Regions from separate parts of the Homo sapiens genome. Here region 1 is linked to region 2. Evidence: promoter capture Hi-C in human tissues and cell types (Jung and others, 2019). All regions are on one chromosome and are shown on one strand. Each heading gives the region's core, a stretch centred on a gene start or on the middle of the fragment in contact. The rest is flanking DNA. Distances are from core to core; before and after follow the strand shown.

Region 1 (3,085 bases), core at 529-3,028, 140 kb after region 2:
ACAGACTGGCTGGAATTCAGCTCGCCGCTGCCAGTGGAAGCTGTGGTAGTAGATCTGCCTCACTGAGTGCATGGGAATTGGGGGCTCACCGCTGCCTGCTACTCCCCACTCTGCACAAACTCTTCTGCGCAGCGGGGGCAGAAGAACATCAACCCAGTGGCCTGAGACCCACTCCATCCCCCAACATTCACAGGAGCTGCTGCTTGCCCTGCACACGGAGAATCAGAGCACAAACCTGACCGACGCAGCCCCCATCTCGCTTTGCCCCGCCACTTGCCCTGGTAGCTTAACACAAAGGACAGAATCTCTTGAGAGCTCTGTGGCCCTGACTATTGCCTGTGAAACCAGAGTATTCCTCCCTCCACGCCCCCACCACCACGCCCCTCCCCCCCCCCCCCCCCCACACACCCACCTACCGCAGCCGGTGTTCATTTGCAAGCACCACCTCCTGGCTGGAGGCCAACCAGCACAGTCCATTACAGCATCTCCTGGTAGAATAACATTGCACCCAGGAAGAAGGAGGCTCTATGATCTCAGCTATTACCACTGCCTGCATCACTCCGGCTAACCAGGAGGTCCTGAGTCCACATGACCAGCTCATTACTACTATAACTAGCATTCAAGAAAGCCAACATACTATGGCTACCAATAACCAAGGAATTTCAGAGTCTACGTCACTCCCCTGCTACCCCCAGTAGAGCTGGTGTTGCTACCCACTTCTGGGAAACTGGCATTCACAACTGGCATTTCCCAACACCAGCCTGGAGGGTGGCAACGTCACTGGGCAGCTAGACCCAGAGGAGCAACAACATTCACAGTAGCGTGGCTCACAGGGACTCCCACTCATAGGGAAAGGGGGAGTGCGCCCCATCAAGGGAAGACCCTGTGGGACCAAAGAATCGGGATGGCAGGCCTTGAGCATCAGATCCTTCCGCTGGTGGAAAGCTTCCTTGAGCAGAGGCGCAGCTGAAGTGCTAGGCTCAGCGGGGAAAGCCTTCAGCTCTATCGCAACAGTCAGACAGCTTTGGTGCATGGGAAGGATCTTGGAGAAGAGGCAGTCTTTCCCCCCTTGTTCACCACCATATGCACAGTTGGGACTTCTCCCACAGGAGCTCGACATGGATGCAACTATAGACGGCCATTCTGGAACACATCAAGGCGACTGCATCCCCACAAGAGGAGCACCCTCCAGGATCAGGCTTGCACAAGAAACAGTCACAATTCCTCTCTATTTGGAACACCAACACCTACAGATGAAAAGAGGTGCCTGTCTGATCTGAATAGCCAGAGCGCTGGGACAGGAGCATATCTAAGAAGTGGAAAACGTCCCTGCTGACCTTGCAGGGGAGCTAAGGTGGCTCCAACCCTTCTCCCTGATAAGACCTCACTGTGACTCACCGAGGGCTCCTCCAGCCACCTCTGTCAAGCCTGGGTCTTCATTTACCCACTTGCTTTACCCACAACCGATTCCTACTCAGGGACACCTCTTCTACTGGCCTGAAACCTGAACCATCAAACCAGTAAATAAAATACTGGGGGAAAATAAATAAATAAAAAGTGCATGAGATGGGAGAAGGAGATAAGCTTTAAGAAACCTCTACCATTCCAACCCCCTAGGAGATAATGGAATGGAAAACCAAACACTGTATGTTCTCACTTATAAGTGAGAGCTAAGCTAGGAATACGCAAAGGCATACAGAGTGATATAACGGACTTTAGAGATTCAGAAGGAGATTCAGGAGGGTGGGAAGAGGACCAAGGGAACAAAATCTATGCATTAGGTACAATGTACACCATTCAGGTGACGGGTGCACCAAAATCTCAGACTTCACCGCTATATAATTCATCCATGTCACCAAAAACCACCTGTACCCCATTAATAAATTAATAATAAAATAAATTTTTAAAAAAAGTTTTAGCTCACTGAGTGAGCTTGCAGCAGAATGGAGACAGCAAAGGAAACAGTCAGTGAATTTGAAGATAGCTCAATAGAAACTATGCAATTTGAATGACATCAAGAAAAAATTGTTTAAGTAAATAGAGTCTCAAGGACATGAAGGACAAAACCAAAAGGTCTAACATTCATGTCATCAGAGTCAAAGAAAGATAAGAGTGTGTGGTGCACAAAAAAAATAAATAACGACTTCCAATTTTTCAAATTTCATAAAAGATATAACTTACAGCTTCGAAAATCTCAACAAATCACCAACAGGATAAAACAAACAAATCCTCATCCAGATAATCACAATCAAACTAGTGAAAACTAAAGCCAAAGAAAAAAATCTTGAAAGCAAGCAGAGAAAAGCAATGTATTTCCCATAGAGAAATAATAATTTGAATGACTGCAGGGTTCTCATCAAAAACAATGGAGGCCAGAAGATTCATCTGACAAAGCACTAATATCCAGAATCTACAACAAACTCAAACGAATTAGCAAGAAAACAACAATCCCATCAAAAAGTGGGCTAAGGACATGAATAGACAACAATTCTCAAGATATACAAAATGACCAACATATGAAAAATGCTCAACATCACTAATCAGGAAAACACAAATCAAAACCACAATGTGATACCACCTTACTCCTGCAAGAATGGCCATCATCAAAAAAATCAAAACATAATAGACGTTGGCACGGATGTAGTGAACAGGGAACACTTCTACACTGCTGGTGGGAATGTAAACTAGTACAACCACTATGGAAAACAGTGTGGAGATTCACAGAGAACTAAAAGTAGAACTACCATTCGATCCAGCAATCCCACTACTGGGCATCTACCCAGAGGAAAAGAAGTCATTATACAAAAAAGGTACTTGCACACACATGTTTATAGCAGCACAATTCGCAATTGCGAAACTGTGGAACCAACCAAAATGCCCATCAATCAACAAGTGGATAAAGAAACTGTGATATGCATATACACATACATACGATGGAATACTACTCAGCCATAAAAAGCAACGAGTTAATGGCAGCAACCTGGATGCAACTGGAGACTATTATTCTAAGTGAAGTAACTCAGGAATGGAAAACCAAATATCCTATATTCTCACTCATAAGTGGGAGCTAAGCTATGAGGATGCA
Region 2 (3,283 bases), core at 338-2,837:
AAAGGAATCTAAATCATTCTGTCATAAAGACATATATACACAAATGTTCACGGCAGCACTATACACAATCGCAAAGTCAGGGAATCAAACTAAATGTCCATCAGTGGTAGAAAGGATAAAGAAAATGTGGTGGCAGGGAGTGGTGGCTCATGTCTGTAATCCCAGCACTTTGGGAGGCTGAGGCGGGTGGTTCACCTGAGGTCAGGAGTTTGAGACCAGCCTGGCCAACATGGAGAAACTCCGTCTCCGCTAAAAATACGAAAATTAGCCAGGCGTGGTGGCGAGCACCTGTCATCCCAGCTACTTGGGAGGCCTAGGCGTGAGAATCGCTTGAACCTGGAAGGTGGTGGTTGCAGTGAGCCGAGATCCTGCCACTGCACTCCAGCCTGGGCAACCAAGCGAGACTCTGCCTTAAAAAAAAAAAAAAGAAAATGTGGCACATATACACCATGGAATACTATGCAGCCATAAAAAAGAATGGGATCATGTCCTGTGCAGCAACGTGGATGGAGCTGGAAGCCATTATCCTAAATGAACTCACTCAGAAACAGAAAACCAAATACCACATGTTCTCACTTATAAGTAGAAGCTAAACATTGAGTACACATGGATACAAAGAAGGGAACCGCAGACACTGGGGCCTACCTGAGGTCGGAGCATGGAAGGAGGGTGAGGATCAAAAAACTACCTATCTGGTACTATGCTTTTTATCTGGATGATGAAATAATCTGTACAACAAACCCTGGTGACATGCAATTTACCTATATAGCAAGCCTACACATGTGCCCCTGAACCTAAAAAAAAAGTTAAAAGAAAAACGTTTGGATTATTTTCCCTCTTTCGAACAAAGACATTGGTTTGCCCAAGGACTACAAATAAACCAACGGGAAAAAAGAAAGGTTCCAGTTTTGTCTGAAAATTCTGATTAAGCCTCTGGGCCCTACAGCCTGGAGAACCTGGAGAATCCTACACCCACAGAACCCGGCTTTGTCCCCAAAGAATAAAAACACCTCTCTAAAAGCTGCTCTTCCACCTTTCTTTGGGTTCCGCACTGGTTTTCCAGGGCCAGGAATGGCAGCAGCCAGGACCCCAGGATAAGGGCAGTGCCCAAGGAAAGGGGAGCAGAAGACATTCAGGGAGGGGGAAAGAAATGAGGCTGGGACAGTGGATAAGGGCCAGGTGAAGGGGAGAGGGGCGGCTTCTGAAGGCTTTGGGCAGGGAGAGTGGCTGGGGGAAGCCTAGTAATGCAACCTATCCAGCGGCGGCTTCGGAAAAAACCCGGGGCTGGGTCAGGATGGGAAAGGCAGCGAACTGAACCGTTTTGAGCCCCAAGTTCGGGGCCGAATGTCTTCCCTGTGCGCAGAAGCAAGGGCGGGGGCGTGCCATCCTCACCCGGAGCGCCGGCCGAGCCTCCCGCCTCCCAACGCCTGGCCAGGGCCCCGTCTCGCCCTCTGCACATGGGATCCACTGACCAGGCAACTGCAGGTTTGGGGCTCTGCGACCCGGGGGCAGGAACAGAGCCTTGCAGGCGGCAGCGCGTCACAAAGGCGGCCGGAGCTTGGCATTTAGCTTGGGCCAGAGCAAGGCGCAGACCCGGGGCGCCCATGGAGTTGGCGTCGGAGCAACAGCTGCGCGGGCGGAGCAGGTAGGCGCGCTCCAGTCCCTGCAGCCCGAGCGGGGTTCAGCGAACGGGTAACGGGAGAATGCGGGCCGGAGCAGGCTGGGGTGGCGGTGGGATGCCCCGAGGCCCGCGGCGGGGAGGCGGGCTGCTCTCATCACCCCCTCTGGGAAGCATCTTTGGCTGCAGGAGTTGCCAGGCCAACTCCCCCTCCCGCGGTGGGTAGGACATCTTTAGATTTCCCTCCCTGGTTGGCAGCTGTGTGATATGGTGGACCAACCCTGGGTTCGAATCCTATCTCCCCACTTACTACACGTTCTCCCTGGGAAACTTTATTCACCTTCCAACACCTCCGTTTCCGTATTTGTGAAATGGATGTGTTTGTATTCCTATCTTCCTTGGCGGGACGTTGCAGAAGTACCTCGGCACCAACTTTCTTATTAATGGCAGCCAGCTCTTGTATAGCGTTTACTACGTGGCAGGCACTCACTGTTCCCGGTGCTTTCCAGGTATCAGCTCACTTAATCCTCCCAACACTAAGAGAAAGGCACTATTATTACCCCATATACAGATGTGAGGATTCACACATAAAGAAATTGACTTGCCTAAGGTCATCCGACTGTAATGGGCATAGCTAGGATGCAGCCCACTAAGCTACACTGCCTCTGATGGGGTCTCGGGGGGTAAGGGGAGGCTCCCAGTCATTAAATAGAATTTGGAGTCTCCTTACAGCAACTCTTCCAGACACACATATTCTTCCAACCCCACCCTTACAGCACCAGTGTCTGATGACTTTTCCTGACCTACAACCTTGCTAGGCCAAAAGGTTTCATGGAGCTTTTATTTACTTATTTATTTTATTATACTTTAAGTTCTGGGATACATGTGCAGAACATGCAGGTTTGTTACATAGGTATACATGTGCCATGGTGGTTTGCTGCACCCATCAACCTGTCATCTAGAATTTAAGCCCCGCATGCATTAGGTATTTGTCCTAATGCTCTCCCTCCCCTTGCCCGCCACCCCCCGACAGGCCCCATTGTGTGATGTTCCTCTCCCTGTGTCCATGTGTTCTCATTGTTCAACTCCCACTTATGAGTGAGAACATGCAGTGTTTGATTTCCTGTTCCTGCGTTAGTTTGCTGAGAATGATGGTTTCCAGCTTCATCCATGTCCCTGCAAAGGACATGAACTCATTCTTTTTTATGGCTGCATAGTATTTCATGGTGTATATGTGCCACATTTTCTTAATCCTGTCGATCATTGATGGGCATTTGGGTTGATTCCAAGTCTTTGCTTCGTGGAGCTTTTAAACTGGTTTATCTCTTCTGCAGCACCTTTTAGGAGCTTTGCTTGGTGGTGAGTGCTGTGGAGATCCCTAGCCTTGGGCAGTTTGCAAGTGATTGAAGAGACCTATTTCTTCATTTGTTAAATGTTTAAGTACCTTCTCAAAAGCAGAAGGAGGTTGTCAAGGGGTGTGTGGGTCCCTTGGGAGAGAAAGGCAAGGACACAGATTATACAAAGAGGGGCACTGGCAAGAGGTAGCAGAAGGAGGCAAGCTAAATACGGACACAGCCATGCTGGGAACCACTAGGGCGCCACGTCATGGGCGGGACGGGCTGCTGTTCAGTCCTTTACGGAAGTCTGTTCGGATGTGGCGGTGGG

What was found. Contacts are between HindIII fragments. The study calls those that stand out against the background at their distance.
Region 1: a contact is called between a fragment that was not itself captured here and the fragment with the promoter of FBXO39 in region 2, in 1 of the 25 tissues and cell types used here (liver).

The regions. Positions count from the first base shown.
Region 1 is chr17:6,914,348-6,917,432 of GRCh38, forward strand. No RefSeq gene overlaps it. Among named protein-coding and RNA genes, the nearest start is that of ALOX12, 80 kb to the right of the region's middle. RefSeq lists an enhancer at 1-517. The HindIII fragment of the contact is 5,172 bases long and covers 1-3,085 here.
Region 2 is chr17:6,774,628-6,777,910 of GRCh38, forward strand. It overlaps FBXO39 (F-box protein 39), which reads left to right and starts at 1,588. Exons shown (of 4, transcript NM_153230.3): 1 at 1,588-1,645. It overlaps XAF1 (XIAP associated factor 1), which reads left to right. Exons shown (of 7, transcript NM_017523.5): 7 at 1-1,020. LOC124903905 (a long non-coding RNA gene) reads right to left here and starts at 1,483. Exons shown (of 3, transcript XR_007065594.1): 1 at 1,393-1,483. The HindIII fragment of the contact is 13,622 bases long and covers 1-3,283 here.